4 separate regions of the Homo sapiens genome follow, and all the other regions are linked to region 4. Evidence: promoter capture Hi-C in 16 types of primary human blood cells and fetal thymus (Javierre and others, 2016). All regions are on one chromosome and are shown on one strand. The core of a region is centred on a gene start or on the middle of the fragment in contact, and the rest is flanking DNA. Distances in the headings are between cores, read along the strand shown.

Region 1 (3,057 bases), core at 137-2,636, 340 kb after region 4:
AGTAAGGATTTCTGTGCTCTGGTGGCCTGCGGGAGTTGCATCACCACTAAGCTCTCTGGAACATGCTTGGGCCCACTCAGTCCATTTGAAGCCAGGACAAGGTGTGAGGTGAGCCCTCTGTAATCATCCCTGCTCATGACTAGGATTCCAGCCAACTAAAATGTGGTTTTGTTAAAAGCTAGTAACCCCTGGGTGTTCCCCCAGCTTTCTCCTACCCACACCTGCAGAACGGGATATGAGCCCTTCCTGGGTTTGGTGATGAAGAAAGAGAGGGTCTGGTGGCCCAGAAGAGGTACGCAAGATCTGCCAACCCCAAACAGGGCCCTTAGGGAACAATCAGTTCTTCCGCAATCCAGAAGAATTTACGCATCTGCACAGGTGAATTGAAAGATCAAAATACGTGAAACATTTGTTGCTGTGCTTCCCAACCACCCCTAAATTACAGACTTCTGACTTGTGGATATTCATCCTCACACCCTTGAGAAGTGCCCTGACCTCACAGAGCCTATTACTTATATTACTTATTAAACACCTACTATGTGCTGGGCAGGGTTAGCAAAATCAGGGGTGGAGAAGGCTGGGTACTAAGGTCAGGGAAGGGCTTCTGCCCAGTTGAGGCTTCTCCTTTCTCATAATCTCCTTTCCCCCTTGGATTCTTTTTCTCTTCTGTCCATCTCACCCATATTCACCTCTAGGGGGATGCAGGGCTTGTCTTTGGCCCACTGCTATCTCCACCAAGCACAAAACATTAATACTCCCTCTGCCTCCAGCACTGCCATTCAAGGTAAATGCAAAATTGTTGCTGCTTCAATGTTTCTACTTTCTTGCAAACTTGGAAAACAACACTGCTACAGTCTTTTTTTGAGTCTTATTCTGTCACCCAGGCTGGAGTGCAGTGGCGTGATCTCCGCTCATTGCAACATTCACCTCCCGGGTTCAAGAGAGTCTCCTGCCTCAGCCTTCCGAGTAGCTGGCACTACAGGTGCATGCCACTACGCCCAGTTAATTTTTGTATTTTTAGTAAAGATGGGGTTTCACCACATTGGCCAGGCTGGTCTCGAACTCCTGATCTCAGGCAATCTGCCCGCCTTGGCTTCCCAAAGTGCTGGGATTACAGGCATGATCCTCCGCACCCGGCCCAGTCTTACAACTTTTCTGGAAAGGTCCTGTACAGCTGTTCAGCTTGGGAGTGAGTTGGAGTAGGAGACGAGCTGGGAACCACCCACCATGGAAAACGCTGTTTCTGTAGAGACATTCTGAGGTCAAACAACTGATTTCAAAAGCTCCAGCTCCCTAGATCCCTGTGGATCTGTTTTCCCTTTTCCTTGTCAGGCACCTGGAAACATTCCACCCTTTTCCTGACTCTCTTGTCTGCCTAACACTCTAATCAGTCTTTCTTGGCTCTGTCCTTGTACCTCAAGAAGGAGAGAAACAAAGGAAGGAGCCAGTTCACGGACAAGGGCTCTTCCAAATTCAAAAGTGTTTTTCACTTCCATTAGGAGGGTTTAGAAGGTACATAAAAACTAAGCGACAAATCAATAAATAAACAAACAACTATTAACTCCAGGAAAAAATAAAGGGAGACATAATCATAATGGACTTTTGGACTCAACCATGAATTGAGCTCACATGTTTATCCAAAAAATAGTAACAATTTAACAAAAAGTTGGGACATAACTATCATAGCAGGATGCAGAAAATGATAGTAGGGACATGGTGGTGGTGTTATCACTGAATCTTTGTCTTCCAATGATAGGAAATCAAAAGATAACATCTAGAGTTGAGAAGTACGGCAGTAAGTACCAGGAAAATAACAGTTTAAAAGTTTAGGGAGGCTGGGCACAGTGGCTCACGCCTGTAATCCCAGCACTTTGGGAGACTGAGACAGGTGGATCACCTGGGGTCAGGAGTTTGAGACTAGCCTGGCCAACATGGTAAAACCCCGTCTCTACTAAAAATACAAAAATTAGCCAGGTGTGGTGGCACACGCATGTGGTCCCAGCTACTTGGGAGGCTAAGGCAGGAGAATCGCTTGAACTAAGGAGGCGGAGGTGTAGTGAGCCAAGATAGCACCACTGCTTTCCGGCCTGGGCAACAGAGCAAGACTCCAACTCAAAAAAAAAAAAAGAAAAAAAAAAGTTTAGGGAGAGGAACAGGAATAAGAAATTGTGGGACAGTGTGATTTTTACTATAAACTATATAAGCTATATTTTGCTCATAAAACAATCCTCATGTACTACTTTGATTTTCAAAAATAATAATCTAGAATTTTTGAAAAGAGAGCCGAATGTCTGGGAGATAATGTTGAAAAATATCTCCTTTAAGGCAGAGTGTAAAGACTGAGAGATGGAAAACATAGGATAAAATAAAATAACATGAAAATAAATCTAGACCCAGATGTCTGGATCCAGGAGGGGAGGAAACAACTGAGGAAGTAACCAAAAGACATTTTCCTAAGGCAAAGAAAGACACAGATGATCAGAGAAAAGGATCCATTGAAGGTGAGAATATGAATAGGGAAATCAAGAAAAACAAACAAATACCAACACTGATGACCAATAAACACAGGGAATAATATAAGCCACACACACAGCTAAAAAAAAAAATGCATATTAAAACACCGATGTTTTCACCTACCCAGATGGGTAAAACTTTGAAACCTTGAAATTACCCAATATTAATAAGTAAATGGAGAATCAGCACTTTGATAATCTGTTACTGAGAATGCAATGGTGCTGAGTTTGCGCAAGGCAAATTGGTGAGAAAAAAAATCAGAATTTAAAATGCCCTTGCTCTTTATTCCAGCACTGTCATTATTAGGAATTCATCCCTTGCATAAACTCATTAAAGTATGTCAAGATATCTATAATTGATAGCAGCAGGAGGCAGGCAAGAACCTAGGCAGATAGGGATGGATCCCCAGTAAAACCCCACCTCCAAGCCAAAAACAACTGTTTAAAGCCTGAAAGTCAAGCTACAAGTCAAATCCACAGACCAGATTGAGAACCTGTCATCCCGTTTGACATGCTTTCCTGATTGATCCCTTCCCTTCACCTA
Region 2 (3,046 bases), core at 89-2,588, 360 kb after region 4:
CCACCTCATCATCCTCATTCTGGTCTCTGCTTTTTCATTTTGGTTATTTTATTTCCATCGTTTTTGTTGTAGTGAAGAAGTTTTAAATTTGTATTTACTCAAATTCATCGGTCTTTTCTTTTGTGGTTTCTTCCTTTTTTCTTTTGTTTTTCTTTCTTTTTGGTTTTCACTTCAAAGCTTACAAATATATTTCCTGTCCTGAAATTTGATTAATATTTGCTTCTATTTTCTTCCCTTTGTCTTCCGTAGTTTGTTTTTTTGACACTTAAATCTGCAATCCAAATAAAACTTAGTTTAGAATTATGGCATTTATTTTTCCAAAAAGTAGGAAGTATAAGACTTCCTGCAATTCCTTAAGCCAAATAAATAAACAAATAAAAGTGAAGTTTGTCCAAAAGTATCTTGGGGCATGTGAGGACTGGGGTGGGCCTGAAATAGAATTTTTGTTTAGTTCTCTTGAACCCTTAGTGTTTCTAAAGTATAGACAGGGTTGGAAATGGCCCATTTGAATAACCTCTTTTCCATCAGGTCCTCTTCAGAGGACACAGAATGAAGTCCAACTGCTAAAATCCTTATTTTATTTTTGAGACAGGGTCTCGTGTTGTTATCCGGGCTGGAGTGCAGTGGCACAATCTCAGCTCATTGCAACCTCTGCCTCCTGGGTTCAAGGAATTCTTGTACCTCAGCCTCCCAAGTAGCTGGGAGTACAGGCATGTATCACCACGCCTGGCTAATTTTTATATTTTTAGTAGAGACAGGGTTTCGCCATGTTGCCCAGGCCAGTCTTGAACTCCTGACCTCAAGTGATCCACCAGCCTAGGCCTCCCAAAATGATGGGATTATAGGCGTGAGCCACCATGCTGGCCCTTCTTTTTTTGTTTGTTTTTTTGAGTGTAACATCTACAGGGTTGACAGTTGTTGGAGGGTATGGGGGTGGTTAGGGCAGGGGCCTTTGTTTCCGGATTCATGAGGTTTTCTTTTTCTTGAGCTGTCTATAACAGCGAATGGCAGTTTATGTTACAGACTAATACTGTGATTTGCATCATCAGGTACATTCAGTTTTCTGCATTAAGAAGGCTATGTAGCTGCAGTCCACAGAAACCCTTTTAAAATGAAGATTGAGTAGGGGATGGACCCAAGAGGTGTATAGGCCAGGTAGTTCATTACAAAGAACAAACACTTACTTTGATTTTTTTTTTTTTTTGTCTGTTTGGGTTTTTTTGTTTGTTTGGTTTGGTTTTTGGTTTTTGGTTTTTGTTTTGTTTTGTTTTGTTTTGTTTTGAGGCAGAGTCTTGCACTGTCACCCAGGCTAGAGTGCAGAGTGCAGTGGCGTGGTCTCAGCTCACTGCAACCTCCACCTCCCAGTTTCAAGCTATTCTCTTGCCTCAGCCTCCCAAGTATCTGGAATTACAGGTATGCACCACAATGCCCAGCTAATTTTTTTGTTTTTAGTAGAGACGGGGTTTCACCATGCTGGCCAGGCTGGTCTCGAACTCCTGACCTCGTGATCCACCTGCCTCAGCCTCTCAAAGTTCTGGGATTACAGGTGTAAGCCACTGCACCTGGTCTGTCTGTTTAAGTGAAGGTGGAGAGATGGCTTACTGCTAATATATAGAGAATGCTAATACATATTTTTAGTCACCAATACAAATTTTATTCTAAACGTAGTCATGAGATATAGGGATAAATAAAATCTAGTAAATCTCAGAGAATTTAATCGTGGTGGCACAAGCCTATAGTACCAGTTACTTGGGAGGCTGAGGTGGGAGAAAAGGAAAATGAATTAAATGTAAAATGATATTCAGGAATTATATTGATTTTATTAGATGTAATAATGGAATTGTGGTTGCTTTTTTGTTGTTCTTATCTGTAGAGATATATACTGAAGAATGTATGAATAAAATAAAACTAAGTGATCTTAGAATTTGGTTTGCTCATCAGGAAGTTTTTTGCACTTTGACTTTTTAGTATATTGCATTAAAATTTGCTTATCTTGATTACTGAGTATTTTTGGAACCCCCTTAAGTTTTACATCTGAGACAAGTGCCATTCTCAACTCACCCTAGTCCTGGCCTTTGGGAGAGGGAACGTCAAGAAGTCAGTCAAGAGGTAGATAATGCAATTACAGAATGGTATGAAAGCTATAAAGGCAAAGCGATGGAGAATCAAGATGGAGTGAGGAGAGAGACTGGGAGAAGGTGTGTGCATGACTGTATATGTCTGTGCATGTTGTTAGGTGGTGTGCAGTGGGGAGTCAGGGGCAAGCACTCCACAGAGAGGATGGAGTTGGAGAAGTGGGGGAGTGGGAGGAATTAAGGATATGTTTTCTGGATAGAAAAGATGGGACTTGCTAATGGATTAGAAAGAGAAGGAGAGCAAAAGGGAAGAGACTGAATGTGGTTATAGTAATGGCAAAGAGTACATTTATCAAGGTGAGGAATAGTGAGGAGAAACAGGATTCAAGGGAAACCGTTTGACTTTGAACCATATTAAGCTTGAGCTACTTATTGAGGACACAAGTAGAGTTGTCACAAAGGCATTCCTGAAGGCAAATCTGGAGCTCGGGTAGAAGGAGTTGAGCAAGAGATACAAATTTGGATGAGGTCACTTATGGAGACAATATAGACAGAAAAATGGAGAGGGCACAGAGCTGAGCTCTGGGGCTAATCAATACTTATAGGTCAGGTAAGAAGGAGAAACCAGCAAATGAGGCTGAGGAGCAGCCATCATTGAGGTAGGAGGAATGCCAGAAGAATTCTAGAAGAACTCTATGAAATGCTGCTGAGAAGTGAGGTAAGCTGAAAAAAGAGAAGTAACCATTAGATATGGTAGCAGGCAGGTCCTTGGTGACTGAGTCATGGTCAGTGCTATGATTGGAACCTGTCCCCCAAAGGCCATGTGTTGGAAACTTGATCCCCAATGGAGCAGTGTTGAGAGGTGGGATTTTTAAGAGGTGATAAAGGTATGAGAGCAAAGTTCTCATGAATGAATGAATTAATGTCATTATCCCAGGAGTGGGCTTGTTGTAAAAGCAGGTTTGGCTCTC
Region 3 (2,950 bases), core at 101-2,600, 400 kb after region 4:
TATGACAAGTGAAGATGCCCTATAATACTGTGACTTCTCATAGGATCACTTGCCTATTTTAGTTTCAGTTACTGTAGCTAATGCCATTTGTCAATTGTTTAAAGTGCTATGAAAAATGTAATTTTTAAAATGAAATGCTGAACAACCTGGAACTAATATCTAGATCAGCACTGCCCAATAGAAATGTCAGGCCATAAACATAATTTTCTAGTAAAGTCAAAAAAGGTAAAAGAAACATATGAAATACATTTTAATAATATATTTTAACACAATATATCTAAAATATTACCACTCTAACATTCAACCAATATAAAAATTATCAATGAAATATTTTACATTCTTTTTTTTTTTAATACCAAGTCTTCAATATCTGGCATGTACTTTGCACTTACAGCACATCTCAATTCCTACCAGCCACATTTGAAGTACTTTATAGCCACATGTGGCTAGTGCCTACTATACTGGCCAGTGTAGAACTACATGATCTCAATGTGAAAGGTATGTGAAGAAAGAGGGAAGTGAAAGCAGGCTGAAATTCCTGTTTTGTTTAAAGTTAGATATGGCCACTAAGGAACATTCAGTAAATGTAATAACTAGTGTTTGGTACAAATGGTTAACCATATGGAAAAAATAAAATTGTATCATGTGCCATACATAAACATAAATTCCAGATAGATTAAGGAGCTATTTTTTAAGAGAAAAAAGTACAAAATACAAAAAGTATTAATTGGGGGACCTTTGAAAGACACAAAATGCGGAAGCCATAAAGGAAAAGATTGTCAGATTTATCTAAAATAGAAATCCAAAATTTAAGTTAAGTAAAGAACATCATAAGAAAAGTTAAATGACAAGGGATACAGTAAAAGAAAACATCCATAAATCAATAAGAAGACAAATAAGCTAACTAAAAAATAGAATATGTGGGCAGATATTTCAAAGAGTAATTTGAATATGCAATAAGTATATGAGATACTTAACCGCACTAGTGATGAGGGCAATGCAGATTAAACAACAATAAGCTATTTTTCTTTCACTAGACTGTCAACAGCAAAATGAAAAACATTGGCCTATTACCTTGTGTCTCTCATTTATGCCACATTTGGAAATGTATATTTGTAAAATCTTTTGGAAGGCAATTCAGCAGAATCTATCAAAATTAAAACATAACTCCTTTGGACTTGAAGATTCCATTTCAGAGAATCTGTTCTTCTAAATATTTATACATATGCACAAAGATGTATGTGCAAGGATTTGATGTGTATTACCAGAACTGGTAAAATCCATCAGTTCATCCCAACCAAAAGAACACCACAGGGATGCCTCTGTATGCCCTGTCATGAGAACATCCTCGAGATCTCAACTTACTTAGATCAGTCAAAAAAGCAAATCCTGTAGATCACAACTTTTTGTTGTGTTGTCCATTTCTATAAGGCTGAAAAAGAGCACACACATACAATTGTGTGTTTAAACCCATATATGTGTGAGTAACTGCCTAGAGAAAGGGCTCTCAGAACATACATCAAACTGGGCAGTGGGTAAGAGAGACGAGGGTGTGTGTGGAGGGACATATTTATATTTTATTTCACATACTTCTGTGCTGCTTGACTCTTTTACAGTGCAAATGGTTTAATATATTACTTGTGGAAGGAGAAGGTTTATAGAGAGAGCCACATTCCCAACTGCTCCTGGCAAAAGACGAGGCTGATTTCAGGACTTGGAGCCACCCCTTCTCCAACCACCCACCCCCACCCAGCTGAGTGGTTGGGTCAGGTCCATGTTGCTGAGTTGTCTCTGGGTGTCTGTCCTTGCGGGCACCAGGTATTCTCAGCCCACACCAGAGGTCAAACATGGAACACCCATCATCTCTGTGTAGCTTTGACCCCACGCTCCCATCTACCCATCTACCCCATGGCATCTCAAGTCCAAGACTGGCTTTTTAAAGTACAAGTCCTGCTGATGGTATTTCCTGGCCATGCTGAAATATGTCTCCTGGAGGAGGAGAATAAGGTCAACCACTGTGACAAACAAAACCAAGAGTGGAGGGCCAATGTGTGGATTGTGTTGATGACTGTGGCTTTCATTTCCCCAAGGCAAAGAAACCTCAGGAGGCTGTGGTCATGGTTTCTCATTTTCATGCTGAGGCTTTTTGGGAAATTTCAGAAGTTGCCACCCACACCTTGTTAGGGGAGGGAGAGGAAACTTCCTCTTCAGGATGGGCTGGGGATTGTGGGAAGACCTTTGTGTGAGACCAAGTGTCATGCAGAGACAGCAAGAGAGAGACTGGGAATCAATTCCTTCTCCAAGGGTTTAATTAAAGTGTGGGGAAGTTTGCAATCTTATTCAGAAGTTAACATCTGAGCATAGATTTGAAGGAGGTAAGAGATGAAGCCATGTGGGTGTCAGACAGAAGCATTCCAGAGACAGGGAACAGCAGTGCAAAGGCCCTGAGGTAGGATTGTGTCTGGTTTGTTGGAAGAACAGAAAGGAAGCCTTTGTGGTGTGGCAGGAACTAAGGGAGTAGGCGGTGAGCAGAAGATAAGGTCAGAGGGAAGGGAGAAAGGTGGAGAGTGAGAACTACCTTGACATCTTGGAAAGACTTTGCCTTTTATTCTAGGTGAGTTGGGGAACCACTGGTGGTCTGAAAGCCAGAGAGTACATGATCAGGCTGACGTTTAACAGAATGCCTCTGTCTGCTGTGTTGGGAACAGACTGAGCGAGTAAGGGAGAAAGCAGGCAACTGCAGCTGACCAAAAGAGAGACAGGAGAGCTGAGATATTAATGGAGTGACCAGCAGCATCAGAATTACCAGGAGGCTTGGGAAAACAGATTGTTGGGCCCCAGCCCTGGAGCTGCTACCTGTTAGTATGGGCAGTGTCCAAGGAATTTACATTACAAGTTCCCAGGTGATGATACTGCTGGTCTGGGGGCCACACTTTGAGAACTTGTCTTT
Region 4 (2,913 bases), core at 114-2,613:
TGGAGGAAGACCTTCAGAATCTCAGAGTGTGGCTGTGACATCTCTCCTGCTTCTCTGCTCCATCAGTCACTTGTCACTCCATCTTTCCCTTTCCTCACCCTTAAAATGAAGTAAGAATGACAGCTACCATATGAAGACCACTTTCTATACACCAGGCGCCTTACATTCATGCCATTCTCACAACAGCCATGTGAGAAATTTTTATCAACCCAGTGATAAGGGTGAGAAGGTGGAGGGAAAATGGCTGGTCCAAGGTCACACAGCCAGGAAGTGATGGAGCTGGTACTGGAATGCAGTCTGTGTGACACAGGCTGCTCCAAGGAGGATCTGGGAACTCTCAGGACCATGCTACAAGGTGGGGTCCATACACTCCAATGCGGGGAGGGCTCCCAGAGCAAAGGCCTCCATGTGGGGGTGCATTTATTAACAGTAGAAACTCGAATTAGGGGAACGCCCCCAGCAGGGTGGGCCCGTAGTGCCCAGGGGTACCAGGCAGAAGCCTATGTAAACACTCCTGAGACCTACAGCCAAACCCCTGCTGCTGTTGGCTGGGCAGGCCAGGCCGGGCTAAAAATAGAAGGCTTCTCAGGTCCAGCTCCCTGTGCCCCAGCCTCCTCCTCTCCCCCTCCCTCCTTCCCCACAGGGCAGGAGCCAGGCTTCTAGAACGAACCGAGACTTTAAGACTTTCGTTTCAGATCAAAGAGGATCGTTAGCTTGATACTCAATGGGCATGTTCCAAGTTCTACAGGGGCCGTAACTGGGGGGAGCTCCTGACTCCAACACCCCACCCAACTCCCTCCTAGGGAGAGAGAGCTGTCAACCTCCAAAACCAACCCAGGGAAGGAGTGAGGTCGAGGCCAAAACTTGGACAATCTCTGCACATCTTGCAATTCAATCTGGAGCCCCTTTGCTGTCTTTCCTTTTCCTGAATCTACTCTCAATGTTGACAGCACTGTGCGATTTCTGTATTTGCCAGGGGCTTCTCGTGGGAGGTCGGCTCCAGCCCTCTCGAGAACCCTCCGGAGACCGTGGGGATGAGGCAGCGCTCAGCCAGAGAAGCCCTGGAGCCCAGGACCAGCGCTTCAAGTGCACCGGGCGGGAGGCAGGGGCGCAGGGAGGGAGGCTCTGGACCGGCCGCCCCTGCTGACTATGGCCCCGGTGCAGGTCAAGGCTTGGGCCCGGGGATTTCCTTTCAAAGGTGACTTAGAGCCGCTTCATTAGGGTAGCGCCCTCCCAGGCGGGCCCTAATGGCGTGTTTGGCAGAGTCAGCGAAAAGCAGCGCCCTGCGGCTCCAGCGGCGGGGGAGCGCCCTCTTCCGCGCCCTCGCCCTCTCCCGTGTGGGGCAGCTGCGCGCACGGGGCCATTTGCAGCGCAAGCAGCCTAGCGTGCGGCCGCGGCGCCCAGGTCGGAAAGGAGGCGGCATCATGGAGCTGAAGAAGGACATCAACGCTGTATCTATCGACATGCTGCTGATCGTGCACTCGGAGAAGCGGCGCGCCGCACAGGGTACGCTCTCAGACCAGCAGGCGAACCCGAGCTCGCTGCTGCAGCGCGGAGGAGGTAACGCGCGCCCGACCCGGGTCCCCGGGTCCCCCGGCACCTTGGCCTCCTTGCCACAAGGGCCTGCCCGCCGGGGGGCGCCCATTGCTCCCCCGAACGAGGTCAGCGAACCCGACCCTCTCCCCCATGGCTGCCGTCGCTTCCCCGCAGTGGCACCGGCGTCCCGTGGCAACGCGCAGTCCCGTGGCAACGCGCAGCCCCGTGATTGCCCCAGTTTCACTCCCTGTGCAGGCCTGTGGGTGCTTCCGTCACCCCTGGGAGTCTTTTTCCTCCCAGCCACTCCCTAACGGGTGTAGAGCAAGATTGGAAGATACCCTGGAGGAAGGCGGCCAGAGCCTCAGGGCTGACTCATGGGTAGCAGAGGCCTGCTCCCCCCCACAGCACACTGCAGGGCACAGGGGACGCTGGGAAACCTTTGGGCTGAGTCAGACTTTTAGATGGGGAGCTCCCTGTGTGGCCTTGCACAATTTACAGCCTCAGTTTCTCCTTTCTTGAGACTTTCTCCCAGCCTCCTATAGATGGAAGGCATGAAAGGCGTAAAAGGAACGCAGGTTTGGATAGGGTAAGATTTGAAACCTGCTGTCTCCACTTGAACTTATCCATCAATTTTACTTGTCCTACACACTTTCTGGGTAAATTTGTAAGTTGTAGATTGGTAAAATAAAGTGACTGTTTATAGAGTGATTGTGGAAAGCAGGATCCGGGCCTCTCTGTTCTCCAGACGACAGAACACAATGTGAATGGAGTACAGAGGGATGATAATGGAGGTTAAATAAGCCCCTGAAAAGCCAGAGAACCTCAGGGTCCTGGATGGCAAGCTGTCTCCGAGGCTGGTGTGAGGATGCACTAGGCGGACTGCGGGCCAGTTCTTTAGGAGTTAGGCCTGACAGCCCATGCAGGAGAATGACTTCTGCCTCTCTCCTCCCCTCCAGCTCTGGAGCTCCTTGGAATTCCTGCTGCTGCTCTGCCCTTGGTTCTTCTGTCCCCAGAGCCTCTGTGCTCATTGAACATCCACCTTCCACCTGCCTTGCTTAAGTAATGCTGCTGTGGATGGCCTTGCCACTACCAGCCACATAGGCTGGAGCTGCCTCCAGAGCCCTGGGAACCTCTTGGGAAGGCAGGCAGGGGAAAGAAACAGAATCTAGAGGGCTGAGTATGTTGACAGGCGCTCTAGTCTCAGGGCTGATTCCTGACTGAAGCAGGAGTTGTTTGGATTCGTTGGCTCTTTAGTTATCAGACCTACTCTTGGGAGAAGGGGAAATGGCCTGCCCAGGGTATTTGTAGTTAGAAAGTCAACAGAGGGCATCAACTTCTTGATAGAAATGAGACTGCTCTGAATACATGTACCACAGT

What was found. Contacts are between HindIII fragments. The CHiCAGO score rates a contact against its expected background, and 5 or more counts as called.
Region 1: a fragment that was not itself captured here is called in contact with the fragment with the promoter of KY in region 4 in 1 of 17 cell types (neutrophils); the score reaches 6.0 in neutrophils.
Region 2: a contact is called between a fragment that was not itself captured here and the fragment with the promoter of KY in region 4, in 1 of 17 cell types (neutrophils). The highest score is 7.3, in neutrophils.
Region 3: a contact is called between a fragment that was not itself captured here and the fragment with the promoter of KY in region 4, in 1 of 17 cell types (neutrophils). The highest score is 5.3, in neutrophils.

Annotation. Positions count from the first base shown.
Region 1 is chr3:134,304,653-134,307,709 of GRCh38, reverse strand. No RefSeq gene overlaps it. Among named protein-coding and RNA genes, the nearest start is that of LINC02004, 7.4 kb to the left of the region's middle. The HindIII fragment of the contact is 5,144 bases long and covers 1-3,057 here.
Region 2 is chr3:134,287,509-134,290,554 of GRCh38, reverse strand. No RefSeq gene overlaps it. Among named protein-coding and RNA genes, the nearest start is that of LINC02004, 25 kb to the left of the region's middle. The HindIII fragment of the contact is 2,317 bases long and covers 180-2,496 here.
Region 3 is chr3:134,253,162-134,256,111 of GRCh38, reverse strand. No RefSeq gene overlaps it. Among named protein-coding and RNA genes, the nearest start is that of RYK, 3.8 kb to the right of the region's middle. The HindIII fragment of the contact is 4,822 bases long and covers 1-2,950 here.
Region 4 is chr3:134,649,472-134,652,384 of GRCh38, reverse strand. KY (kyphoscoliosis peptidase) reads left to right here and starts at 1,363. Exons shown (of 11, transcript NM_178554.6): 1 at 1,363-1,560. The coding sequence starts at 1,425. It also overlaps a transcript of CEP63 not described here. The HindIII fragment of the contact is 8,919 bases long and covers 1-2,913 here.